Regions from separate parts of the Homo sapiens genome. Here region 1 is linked to region 2. Evidence: promoter capture Hi-C in human tissues and cell types (Jung and others, 2019). All regions are on one chromosome and are shown on one strand. The core of a region is centred on a gene start or on the middle of the fragment in contact, and the rest is flanking DNA. Distances in the headings are between cores, read along the strand shown. Region 1 overlaps ARMC6 (armadillo repeat containing 6). Region 2 holds the start of ELL (elongation factor for RNA polymerase II).

What was found. The method cuts DNA at HindIII sites, captures the fragments that hold promoters and counts their contacts. A contact is called where the count stands out against the background at its distance.
Region 1: a fragment that was not itself captured here is called in contact with the fragment with the promoter of ELL in region 2 in 1 of the 25 tissues and cell types used here (spleen).

The regions. Positions count from the first base shown.
Region 1 is chr19:19,035,645-19,042,581 of GRCh38, reverse strand. All of the region lies in intron 2 of ARMC6 (armadillo repeat containing 6), which reads right to left. Among named protein-coding and RNA genes, the nearest start is that of ARMC6, 5.5 kb to the right of the region's middle. The HindIII fragment of the contact is 5,677 bases long and covers 33-5,709 here.
Region 2 is chr19:18,516,690-18,523,483 of GRCh38, reverse strand. ELL (elongation factor for RNA polymerase II) reads left to right here and starts at 1,414. Exons shown (of 12, transcript NM_006532.4): 1 at 1,414-1,563. The coding sequence starts at 1,429. RefSeq lists enhancers at 921-1,250, 1,394-1,909, 1,910-2,425 and silencers at 1,641-1,950, 2,681-2,730. The HindIII fragment of the contact is 13,027 bases long and covers 1-6,794 here.

The DNA of each region.
Region 1 (6,937 bases), core at 1,622-4,121, 520 kb before region 2:
TCTTCCCACCTGTTATCACAGGAAAGGGTGATATCCCTACTTCCCTAGAACTTCTGCAAATACAGAAGAGGCCGGGTGTGATGGCTTAGCCTGTAATCCCGGCACTCTGAGAGGCCGAGGTGGGAGGATCACTTGAGCCTGGGAGGTCAAGGCTGCAGTGAGCCATGATCACACTACTACACTCCAGCCTGGGCCACAGAGTGAGACCCTGTCTTGGGAAAAAAAAACAAAGTGTAGGAGAGAACACAGAGTTTACTACATTTTATCTAAGAAAGGTGGTTCTTTAATATAATGATACTAGTAATGTTATTCTGAAACTATTACGGATGTAGCAAATAATAATGATTATCTTATTAGGAATCAGAATAAAAGAAAAAAGATTCTGGCTGGGCGCAGTGGGTCAATGCCTATAATCCCAACACTTTGGGAAGCTGAGGCAGGAGGATTGCTTGAGCCCAGGAGTTCAAGACCAGCCTGGACAACATGGCAAAAGTCTGTCTCTACCAAAATAAAAATAAAAATTAGCTGAGTGTGGTGGCACATGCCTGTAGTCCCAACTACTCAGGAGGCTGAGGTAGCAGGATCGCTTGAGCCTGGGAGGCCAAGATTGCGCCACTGCACTCCAACCTGGGCAACAGAGCAAGCCCCTGACTCAAAAAGAAAAAAAAAAGATTCTAACATCGTACTATCAACTAAAAACTCGGAACTCCCTATAATTAACAATATTGTATGGTATACTTGAAATTTGCTAAGAGGGTAGATTCTAAGTGTTCTCACCACAAAAAAGAAAAAGGTAACTGTTGATTGAGGTGAGTATTTCACAATCTGCATGCATATAAAATCGTCAAGTTGTATAATGTAAACATATGCAATATATTTGTATCATTTATGTACCATATATAGTATAAGATATACACTATATTAAATACAATTCGCTGGGTGCAGTGGCGCATGCCTGTAATCCCAACACTTTGGGAGGCCGAGGCAGGTGGATGACCTGAGGTCAGGAGTTTAAGACCAGCCTGGCCAGCATGGTGAAATCCCATCTCTGCTAAAAATACAAAAATTAACCGGGCATGGTGGCGGGCACCTGTGATCCCAGCCACTCGGGAGGCTGAGGCAGGAGAATCATTTGAACCCAGGAGGCAGAGGTTGCAGTGAGCCGAGATTGCACCACTGCACACCAGCCTGGGCAACAGAGCAAGATTCCGTCTCAAAAAAAAGTACATCCTATACCTCGATAAAGTTGAGAAAAAAAATCTCAGAACTCCTATATATGAAATGGGAATATCCATATAAACCCATCATGTGTTTTCTCTTAGGTAAACAAAGATCTAATTTTCTAGTCATAGCAACTAAAAATGCCTAGGAGAAATGACAGCACAGGAGCACTGAATACCTCTAACACCATGTATGGTTTCTACCATTTCCCACGAAAAGGAGCTGGGGCCAGGGCTAGGTGGCTCACTCCTGTAATCCCAGCACTTTGGGAGGCTGAGGCAGGAAGATGGCTTGAGGCCAGGAGTTCAACACTAGCCTGGACAACATGGGGAGGCCCTGTCTCTACATAAAATCTTTAAAAACAAGGAGCCAGGGCTTCTGGAGGAATGGCTGATTCCAAGTCCCAGCAGGTCATGGGGCAGGTAACGCTGGGGTCTTGTGAGACCAGGAAGCAAGGAAGCTTCCAAACCCTAAGGGATGCCTGGTAGCTACAGATGAGACAAGTGAGCATTAAAAAAAAATCCAGTACATATCAAAATCAAAATCTGGGCCAGGTGTGGTGGCTCACGTCTGTAATCCCAGCAATCAGGGAGACCGAGGTAGGAGAACCACTTGAGCACAGAGGCGGAGGTTGCAGTGAGCCGAGATCATGCCATTGCACTCCAGCCTGGCTGACAGTCAGACGATGTTGCAAAAAAAAAAAAAAGTCAAACTCTGTGCTTTCATAATACTAAAACAAATACAGCTCAGGCTTCTGAAAACTGGCCAAGAATCCAGCTCTTGGCAGGGAGTGGTGGCATGCTCTTGTACTCCCAGCTACTACTCAGGAGGCTGAGATGGGAGGATCACTTGAATCCAGGAGTTCAAGACCAGCCTGGCCAACGTAGCGAGACACTGTCTCTACAATAATTAGTAACAATTTTTTTAAAAAAAACCTAGCACTTAACCTGCCTCCCTTGTACAAATGAGTCCCAGGTTATAAAAAGAGGATGAGGAAAAGTTCTGCTTCCGATTCCAGCTGATCAGCTGTGACAGGAGAGAAACAGATAATGATCCCACAGGATCCAAAACCATCAGGTGTAAAACTGATGGGAGCCCAACAAGGGGTAGACAGGAACTCAGTCTACTGCTTGATCTCACATCATCAAGAGAAACCAGCAACACCTACCTCCTGAACAAGAACAAAATGCACCTGTGAAGTCATCGTGCCAAAATCTCAAACCCGAATCTGATCATGCATTCAGGGCACTTCCTGCTATGATGAAACGTTCTCTATCTGCACTGCCTAGTACAGAAGCCATTGGCCTCTGTGGCTATCACACAGCTGAAGTGTGGCAGTGTGGCTGAGGAACTGAGTGTGTAATTTTATTTCATTTTAATTTGTTAATGTAAATAGCCATGTGTGACGAGTGACTATGGTATTGCACAGCACAGCTCTGACACCTTAACCAACACCATGGGGATGTGATCTGCAAAATCCCTACTAGGGAAGAGAATGTCAACTAGAGGACAAACACCCAGAGTTTTCAACAAATAAATCACAAGAACAAAGAAAAGGAGACGGAGTCTACCAACAGATGAATGGATAAAATGGTCTGTGCGCATGGTGGTATATTACTCAGCCAGAGAAAGGAATGAGGTGCTGAAGCATGCTACAATGGAGATAGACCTCAAAAACATGATGTCTCGTCAAAGAAGCCAGACACGAAAAGCCTCATATTGCACGATTCCAATGACATGAAATATCCAGAACAGGCAAATCCACAGACACAAAAAGCAGACTGGGTGTTGCCAGGGACTGGAGGAGAGGGAATGGGGAGTAACTTCTAATGGGTATAGGGTTTCCTTCTGGGTGATGAAAACGTTCTTGAATTATAGTGATGATGGTTGTACAACTCTGTGAAAACGTAAAATCACTACATCAGGCCAGGCATGGTGGCTCACACCTGTGATCCCAGTGCTTTAGGAGGCCAAGGTGGGAGGACTGTTTCAAGTCTGGAGTTTGAGACCAGCAAGGACAACATAGTAAGGCCCCGTCTCTACAAAAAAATTTAAAAATATAGTCAGGTGTGGTGGCATTTGCGTGTGGTTGAAGTTACTCGGGAGGCTGAAGCAGGAGGATCATTTGAGCCCAGGAGTTCAAGGCTGCAGTGAGCTGTGACTGGGCCACTGCACTCCGGTCTGGATGACAGAGGGAGACCATGTCTCCAGAAGAAAAAAAAAAATTACTAAATCAAATGAGTGAATATTATGGTATGTAAATTATAGCTCAATTTCTTAAAGTGCTAATCTGTTTAAAAACAAAAAGAACTGAGCAATGACTTGTGCCTGTAATCTCAGCAACTTGGGAGGCTAAGGCGGGGGGATCACTCAAGCACAGGAGTTTGAGACCAGCCTGCGGCAACACAGTGAGACCATATCTCTTAAAAAAAATGTGTGTGTGTGTGTGTGTGTGTGTGTGTATACACACAAACCCACCTTATAAAATAAAAATAAGCAAGTAAGGCCAGGCATGGTGGCTCATGCCTGTAATACCAGCACTTTGGGAGGCCAAGGCAGGCAGATCACCTGAGGTCAGGAGTTCAAGACCAACATGGCGAAACCCCGTCTCTACTAAATATACAAAAATTAGTGGGGCGCCTGTAATCCCAGCTACTCGGGAGGCTGAGGCAGGAGAATGGCTTGAACCAGGGAGGTGGAGGTTGCAGTGAGACAAGATCACGCCATCGCACTCCAGCCTGGGCAACAAGAGCAAGACTTCGTCTCAAAAAATAAATAAATAAACAAACAAGTAAAACCCAGTATAGGCATACCCTGGAAACCAGGGGTAGGTATCAACACTTAGATGACCCACTAACCTTGGGCAGTACCTTCCACTCTGACAGGTGGGAACAAGACATAGAGTTAAGTAAGATAAAACTCTTGGTAAAAACACCAAATCCCTTTGCAATTCTGTTTCAAACCTGTAGCTCAGCAGTCCCAACCTTTTTAGCCTAAGGGACCAGTTTCGTGGAAGACAATTTTTCCATGGATATGGTGGGGCTAGGGTGGGGATGGTTTCAGGATTGTTCAAGCTCATTACATTTATTGTGCACTTTATTTCTATTATTGTTACATTGTAATATAATAATTATACTATTCACTGTAATGTAGGATCAGTGGGAGCCCTGAGCTTGTTGTCTGGCAACTAGACAGTCCCATCTGGGGGTGATGGGAGATAGTGACAGATCATCAGGCATTAGATTTTCATAAGGAGTGCCCAACCTAAATCGCTTGCATGTGCAGTTCACAGTAGGGTTCGTGCTCCTATAATTTAATGCTGCTGATCTGACAGGAGGTAGAGCTCAGGCATAATGCAAGTGATGGGGAGTTGCTGTAAATACAGATGAAGCTTCACTCGCTCACCCTACGCTTGCCTCCTGCTGTGCAGCCCAGGTCCTAACAGGCCAGGGACCACTGGACCAGTATGGGTCTGTGACCCAGGAATTGGGGACCCCTGCTGTAGATGATCTTAACCAGAAGGTCTTGACAGGGTACGAGTGAACCTAACATTTGCCACCGTCCCTTTGGAACAAAAGGAGGAACAGGCCTTAGGTCCAGAGCCTAACAGAGGTTAACAACTTTTTAAATTTTAATTGTTTCAATATATCCACCTTGCTTATTGCAGTAATATCAAGTTTCCGTTCTGGAATTATCAAGTTTCCACTTCAGGCCAGGCATGGTGGCCTGCACTTTGGGAGGCCGAGGCGGAAGGATCACATGAGGCCAGGAGTTTGAGACCAGCCTGGACACGTGGCGAAACTCCATCTCTATAAAAAATACCAAAATTAGCCAGGTGTGGGAGCATGCACCTGTAGTTACAGCTATTTGGGAGGCTGAGGTGGGAGCCCAGGGAGGTCAAGGCTGCAGTGAGCTGAGATCATATCCCTGAACTCCAGCCTGGGTGACAAAGTAAGACCTTGTCTCAAAAAAAAAAAAAAAGGAAAAAGAAACAGGTCACTCTGGCCCATGCTTCTCTTTTCAGGCAGTGGCATGGGATATACACATTCCATCTGTGTTCCTGCAGATGCCCACCATGGACTGCACACTGCCTGACGGGAGAAGGACTGGCTCGCAGCCAGCCTGCAGAACCCAGTTCCCATGCCCTCCACTTCAATGCCCTTTTCTTTTTTTTTTGAGACAGAGTCTCGCTCTGTCGCCCAGGTTGGAATGCAGTGGCACGATCTTGGCTCACCACAACCTCTGCCTCCTGGGTTCAAGCGATTCTTGTGCCTCAGCCTCCAAGTAGCTGAGACTACAGGCCCACGCCACCACGCCCAGCTAATTTTCGTATTTTTAGTAGAGACAGGGTTTCACCATGTTGGCCAGGCTAGTCTCGAACTCCTGACCTCAGGTGACCCACCTGCCTCGGCCTCCCATCATGCTGGGATTACAGGCATGAGCCACCACGCCCAGCCAGATACACTTTTCTTCAATTCCCTCATGTGTCAAACAGAGATAAACACGAATCTACTTCATAGGGCAGTAGTGAAAAATTCAGCCAACTCCTATACCTTCCTCAGAACAGGATATGGACAGGCTCAATAAATTAGCTATTTGTTCCTTTCCTTTGTTGCTTAAGAGGCAATTCAGCAAGTTTATGCAGGAGTCCCATCTCACTCTTTTGCAGATAGGCCCCTCTCCTTTCTGCCCCAGAAGAAAAGGGAGCTCTTTAAGGGCTGCTATGGATTTCCAAGGTTAAAGGTGAAGGAAGAGTAATATAAAGAGTTTCTCAGTAGGGAGTAAGGAGTAGGGGACTCCACTCCCACCACCCCGGCCAGGCCAGGAAATTCCTTGTGGCCCTCAAGATCTTTACCTGAAAACAATTTTGTTGAATGTCACCCTGGCAATGTAAATTGACAGGTGATCTTCACAAGTGCAGGACAGAAAGTCATCACCTGAGACAAATGCATATCCAGTTGCTCTCTCTGCCCTAACGTTTATGTAAAAATGCAGATTTGGCCTGGCTCCGTGGCTCATGCCTGTAATCCCAGCATTTTGGGAGGCTGACACCGGTGGATCACCTGAGGTCAGGAATTCGAGACCAGCCTGACCAACATGGCGAAACCCCGTCTCTACTAAAAATATAAAAATTAACTGGGCGTGGTAGTGGGCGCCTGTAATCCTAGCTACTCAGGAGGCTGAGGCAAGAGAATTGCTTGAACCCGGGAGGTGGAGGTTGCAGTGAGCCAAGATTGCGCCATTGCACTCCAGCCTGGGCGACAGAGCGAGACTCTATCTCAAAAAATAAAACAAAAAACAAGAAACAAAACCTCAGATTCATGAGTCGGACTGAGGCATAAATGACTATTCCTCTACCTGCCCTGTACCCCATATAAATCGTGTATTCTGTGAAAGGCTGACCAAAGACTCAAAAGAAAGCAATCATTTGTCTCTACCTGTGACCATCTTACACATATTCATTTATATCTCACGTCTCCCTAAAATGTATAAAAGCAAGCTGTGCCCCAACCACCTTGGGTACATGTTGTCAGGACCTCCTGAGGCTGTGTCACAGACATGTCCTTAACCTTGGCAAAATAAGCTTTCTAACTGATTGACACCTGTCTCAAATACTTCGGATTCTCAGTCCTCTGTGGAGCTTCTGCCAGCCCTTCCAGGTGGCTGCCTTTCCTGGCCACTCAGAGAGCCCACACTCTCTGGCTTCACTCCCCAA
Region 2 (6,794 bases), core at 165-2,664:
AAAATTAGCTGGGCGTTGTGATGGGCGCCTGCAGTCCCAGCTACTACTCGGGAGGCTGAGGCAGGAGAATTGCTTGAATCCAGGAGGCGGTGGTTGCAGTGAGCCGAGATCACACCACTGCACTCCAGCCTGGGCAAGGAAATCGAAACTCTGTCTAAAAACAAACAAACAAACAAAAACTGGGGGAGGTGGCTCACGCCTGTAATCCTAGCACTTTGGGAGGGCGAGGCGCGCGGATCACCTGAGGTCAGGAGTTCAAGACCAGCCTGGTCAACATGGTGAAACCCCATCTCTACTAAAATACAAAAATTAGCTGGGCATGATGGCGGGCGCCTGTAATCCCAGCTACTCGAGAGGCTGAGACAGGAGAATCGCTTGAATTCAGGAGACGATGGTTGCATTGAGCCGAGATAGCGCCACTGTTCTCCAGTCTGGGCTGATGAGCAAGACTCCGTCTCAAAAAAAAAAAAAAAGAAAAGAAAAGAAAATGGAAGTCTGGGCTTGGTGGCTCACTCCTGTAATCCTAGCATTTCAGCAGACCCAGACAAGGAGGATCAGTTTGAGTTCAGGAGGTCGAGGGTGCAGTGAGCCATGATGGCGCCATTGCACTCCAGCCTGGGCAACACAGCAAGACCCCTCAAAAAAAAATTAAAATAGGAAAATGAAGCTGGACTGCACCATCGCTCAGGGACTGTGGGGATGTAGGATTTTATCCTATTAAAAGTACTCATCTCATAAGAAAAAGTTTACCAGCTCCTCTTCCACCTACCGGTCCAGCACCTTCCCTGGGTGGAAGTCCCATCCACCCCGCCTAAGGGATGCCTTATGTGTCCAACCCAGCGTCCAACGCGCGCGCTCCGTTTACATAGCCACGCCCACCCTCCCGGCCCGCGGCGGGGCCTACCCACCCACGTGTTTCGAGCCGGCTCCGCCCCTCCACGCCCTCTCTGCGGCTTTCCACAGAAGCCAAAGACGGAAGACTGTAGAGATCTCATAAATAATGCATCACGTCAGCGGCTGTAGGGGCGGGGCTTTGACGCGCCTGGCTGGCTGAGTCAGGGTTATGTATAATACTATGGAGGCGGGGCCTGGAGGGGTGCGCGTGTTGAGGCGGAGTTCGTTCACGGAAGTGGCCACCCCTAGGGCCTGAAGAGGCGGGGCCATAAGTGCCTTATGAATATGCAACAACTTGGGGCGTTGACTGTGGGCCTTGTGGGGCCCTCATGGGGCGTGGCCAGGCGCGTCTCCTGAATAATGTAGTGCGCTGCCTGCCGGTGTGGCGGCGACTGTTGGTTTGGTCGGACTCGGGGGGCGTGGCCAGCCGCGTCTCATGAATAATGCAGCGCGTCAGCGGGCGGCGGGGCGGGGCGTGGCCGGCGTGGCGGCGCTGGAGCCGGGAAGGGGGCGCGGGGGAGAGATGGTCGCAAGATGGCGGCGCTGAAGGAGGATAGGAGCTACGGGCTGTCGTGCGGGCGGGTTAGCGACGGCAGCAAGGTGTCGGTGTTCCACGTGAAGCTCACCGACAGTGCCCTGAGGGCCTTCGAGAGCTACCGCGCCAGACAGGTGAGTGGCATGGCGCCCGGCGCGCCAGTGGGGAACGTCCGGACGCGGGCCGGCCTCGCGCTCCCCTCACTGAGGCGTCCGGGCTCGGAGACGCTAGGTCTGTGGTGCTGCTCGCGGGTCCCTGGGCCGGCGGGGCGCGGAGTGGGCGCCAGTCCGGCCTGGAGCGCTGAGAACCGCGTTCCTTCTCAGCACTAGGAGGCAATACAGGCGGGTGGCCCGGGGCTGCTGAGGGGCCCAGACTCGCGCGCCGGGCCCGGGGGGCGTCGGTGTCGGCACCTGGCGGCGTCCGGGGCCTTTCTGGCCTGCTGGGCACCTGGGCAGGGTCCAGTTTGCGCACCTGGCGGCGGGGCGAGGAGGCGGTGGGCCGCACGGTCCCGGCACCGTGATAGGGGGAAGCTGGGGGCTTTTCCATCTGGGGCCGGGGCAGCGCCGTTGGTGGGGGTGACTGTGTCTGTCCTCCTGGGAAGCAGCGATCGTCTGGGTGCCCGGCAGGGGGTGGTCAGCGAGGCACTTGTGGGGGTCTGTTCTGTCTGGGTGGAAGGCTTTGCAGCTGGGGGCTGGCTTTGACGCGTTCCGATGAAGCCACTCAGGTTGGGCCACTTTGGTTCTTGGGACGGGGAGTTTGGGCAGAAACTGACAGCTTGTCCCAGCTTTCTGCTCCCCTTACCCCCAGGTGACCCTCTCTCTCCGGAGAGAGGTTCCTTGGAGAGTGGAAGTGTTGGGGGCGGCTGTGATGTTATCCTCAGGGCACATGTAGGGGATCCCTGCCACCCAGGAGGAAGCTCTGGCTACCACATCTGGCCGCTGACTCTGGAACTTCTCAGAGGCCGATTTGGGCCCATCTGGGGGAAGTTTGAGGCGTTTCGGTTCTGCCACCTGGCTGGTGGTGGGGAGGGGAGGCTGCTGTGTATGTTCTCTTGGGCCTGACTTTGGGGCGCATCTGGGGCCGTGGTCAGAAACCTGCCTTTTTCATTTCTGTTTGTGTCATGGCCCCCCCTCCCCCCGTCTGTGCTGGGTCAGAAGTTGCAGATGACCAGTGGTCAGGTCCCGAGGGGAAGTGGTTTAGGAACCTTGTAACTCCTTTTCTGGAAATTGGGGGCTTCATTGCCCTAAAGGGAGTGGGGGTGGGTCTAGTCTCGGGCTCAGAGAGCCCTGCTCCCTGCGTGTGTGTGTGTTTGTGTATACTGTTGATGGTGGGGGTGGGGGGGTGCCGCGGGCGGGGGAGGAGGGAGACTAACTAGGAAGGAATGTGGCTTTCTTCCTGCCCCGAACTTGTTCAGCTCCATTAGCTAAGCCGAGAATTTCTTCCCCCTGTTTCGTTTCCACCACTCTCCCGGTGCCCACCCCTTCCGTGCTTCTTCCCATGTCTTTGGGCAATTTCCTCCCTGTCCCGGTGTCGCAGTTTTCCCCTTCATGGAATGAGGATTTCATTTTTTTTTGAAAGAGCAAGTTCGCACCTTGTCAAAAAGACTCCCCAAGATGAGGCTAAGGCGCCCCTGCAGGTGAGGAGGAGACAGTGGCAGCGACAGCAGCTGCTGGCCCATGACCAGCCAGAGCCTCTCTTCCTGGTAGAATTCTGGCCCTGGGTCTTTTTCCCTGAGCGATTCTGACTTGTCCTGCAGGAAGGCAGGCTTTCCTAGAAACAGCTGGGGGAGAGCTCGTGAGTCATATAACTACGATGGACTTGGTACCTGGTCACCACTGTCTTCTGTGCTTTAGGAACCAGGAGCTCCGCCTTCTCTCTGATGCTGCCCTCGCTTGCTTTTCAGTCCAGAAGGTCCGCCTGTGTGTCCACCTCATGCTGTCACACTGCTATTTTTACTTTAGGGTATTGGTTACATCCCCTCTCTAAGCTGGATCTTCCTCATGTTAGGGTGAAGGTAACTGTGGACTGTTAAACTCCTCTGGCTCGGAGCCCAGCTGTGTAGGGCAGTGTGTTGACCAGCCAGGAGGGGCTTCCTAGAAGAACTTTTCCAAGCCATCCAGAGCAACTTGGCTGGCTGGATTATATTTTGGGGTGATTCAAACTTGGATTTTTCTCAAAAAGCTGTCTGGTAATTTAAGTGGCTTGGCCACTTTCTTTCTTTCTTTCTTTCTTTTTTTTTTTTTTTTTTGAGATGGAGTTTCACTCTGCTGCCCAGGCTTCATTGAGGTGGCGCGATCCCGGCTCACTGCAGCTTCTGCCTCCCGGGTTCAAGCGATTCTCCTGCCTCAGCCTCCCGAGTAGCTGGGACTACAGGCACGTGCCACCACACCCGGCTAATTTTTGTATTTTTAGTAGAGACAGGGTTTTGCCATGTTGGCCAGGCTGGTCTTGAACTCCTGACCTCCAGTGATCCGTCCTTCTCAGCCTCTAAAAGTGCTGGGACTACAGGCATGAGCCACTGCTCCCAGCCAGCTTGGCTACTTTCGAATTTAATCTTGCCCATGGGGCAGTATAGTGGATGGACTTTTCTAAGGCACGGCAGCTCCGTGCTCTCTGTGGTTTTGGGTAGTGAGCTTGAGGAAGGTGGCTTGAAGAACTTGATTGTGTAACCAGAGAAATATACTGGTTATGGACAAACTCTCATGTGGACAACTCTATCACCCAGAAGCCAGAGTTTTGTATTCCTCGATGCTGTGGTTATATAGTTTGCCAATTGCAACTTGTGGAGAGGGCTTTTATTTTTAATTTCTTTTTTTTTTTTTTGAGACGGAGTCTTGCTCTGTTGTCCAGGCTGGAGTGCAGTGGTGCGATTTTTCGTGTTAGCCAGGATGGTTTCGATCTCCTGACTTTGTGATCTGCCCACCTCGGCCTCCCAAAGTGCTGGGATTACAGGCGTGACCAACCGTGCCCGGCCTATTTTTAGTTTTTAATTGTGAAGAGGCTTTTACAAATTCAGGTGTGGCAGGGGCTAGAAAGGAACTTGCTGTGGAACTTTCTCTGTGGCTCCCAGGAGCAGGTAATCCTAGCTCTGGGAACAGCCCAGGTAGAAGCCCTCCTGTTTTCTCTCCCCAGAGGGCTCTGGTGTTGACCTGGTAGCCAGCTGGAGCAGCGTGGTGGAAGGTAAAGGCGCAGCAGTACACATAGCTGCTGGCCTTCTCACTCTACCTTGGACTTTGTGCAGTTTTTCTTTCCTTTTTTTTTTTTGAGACAGGGTCTTGCCCTGTCGCCCAAGCTGGATTGCGCTGGCGTGATCTCAGCTCACTGCAACCTCCGCCTCCCGGGTTCAAGTGATTCTCCTGCCTCAGCCTACCAAGTAGCTGGGATTACAGGCACGCATCACCGTGCCTGGCTAATTTTTGTATTTTTGGTAGAGATGGGGTTTTACCATGTGGTCAGGATGGTCTCAAACTCCTGACCCCTCAAGTGATCCATCTGCCTCAGCCTCCCAAAGTGCTGGGATTATAAGCTTGAGTCGCCACGCTGGGCCCCCTTTTTTTTTTTTTTTGAGACAGGGTTTTGCTCCATTGTCCAGGCTGGAGTGCAATGGCATGATCATAGCTCACTGCAGCCTCGAACTACCACCCTCCTGCTTCAGTCTCCTGAGTAGCTGGGGCCACAGGTGTGCACCACTGCACCTGGCTAAGTTTTAAATTTTTTTGTAGAGACGGGGTCTCACTATGTTGCCAAGGCTGATTTCAAACGCCGGGGCTCAAGTGATTTCCCTGCCTCAGCCTCCCAAAGTGCTGTAATTACAAGAGTGAGCCATCGTGCCTGGCCTAGTTTTTGTTGTTGTTGTTGTTGTTTTTTGAGACAGAGTTTCACTCTTGTTGCTAGGCTGGAGTGTAATGGTGTTATCTTGGCTCACTGCAACCTCAGCCTCCCAAATAGCTGGGATTACAGGCATGCACCACCATGCCCTACAAATTTTGTACTTTTAGTGGAGACGGGGTTTTACCATGTTGGTCAGGCTGGTCTCGAACTCCTGACCTCAGGTGATCCTCCTCCCTTGGCCTCCCAAAGTGCTGGGATTATAGGAGTGAGCCTTCGTGCCTGGCCTAGTTTTTCTCTTTTCTTTTCTTCTTCTTCTCCTTCTTTTTTTTTTTTTTTTGAGACAAGGTCTTACTCTGTCACCCAGGCTGGAGTACAGTGGTGTGATCATAGCTCACTGCGGCCTTGAACTCCTGGGCTTAAGTGATCTTCCCACCTCAGCTGCCCAGAGTGCCGGGACTACAGGCATGAGCCATTGTGCCTGGCCCAGTTTTTTTCTTTTTCTTTTAATTAAAAAAAATTTTTTTTTGTAGAGATGGGGTTTCCCCATTTTGCCTAAGCTGGTCTTGAACTCCTGGGCTTAAGGGATCCTCCTGTGTCGGCCTCCCAAAGTGCTGGGCTTACAGGCATGAACTACGTGTCTGTTTTTCTTTGAATATAAAAACCTGCATGGGATGGCCGGGCGTGGTGGCTCACACCTGTAATCCCAGCACTTTGGGAGGCTGAGGTGGGAGGATCCCTTGAGGTCAGGAGTTTGAGACCAGCCTGGACAATATGGTGAAAACCTGTCTCTACTAAAAATACAAAAAAATTAGCCAGGCGTGGTGGTGCATGCCTGTAATCCCAGCTACTTGGGAGGCTGAGGCAGGAGAATCTGGGAGATGGAGGTTGCAGTGAACCGAGATCGCACCACTGCACTCCAGCCTGGGTAACAGAGGGAGACCCTGTGTCAAAAAACAAAACGAAACCTTCATGGGTTGTGAGGTGGCTGTTCTTGTGGATCTCCCGGTTTGCTCTGATGAGTGATTTCTGGGAGAGGGGAGAGTGGAAGCATGGACACACCCCCTCCTTCCAGGACAGTGTTACTCACCTGCTTGGAAAAGTAGCCTCTGGTCAGTCTGAGGAAGTGACCCTCCCAGGGGCACTTGGGTTGTAGTTCATCATTAGGTGTTTGCATGGGCTCTGTTGCTGAGTGACCTCTTTTGGATCACAAGCTCCTTGGTGGAGAGGAGCACACCGTTGTTCAGAAAAAAATGAGGGCCCAGGAAGTGCTTCAGGAGGCCTGGGGATTAGAGCCTCTCTCCATTTGAATCTCAGCTCCACCTGCCTCCTGAGGCCATGGGTGAGTGCCTGACCCCTCCCATCTCCGAATCCTTCTCAGAACTGGGGTCAGCAGTACTTGACCTGCTCCCTCAAGTTCCAGATCCTTCTCTCAGGGCTGTGAGGATCCTGGTGCCTGACCCTTTCTGAGTTCCAGATTCTCTTCCTCTTGGGAGGAGAATAACCTGACCCCTCTTGTGCTCTGAGCCCTTAGTGA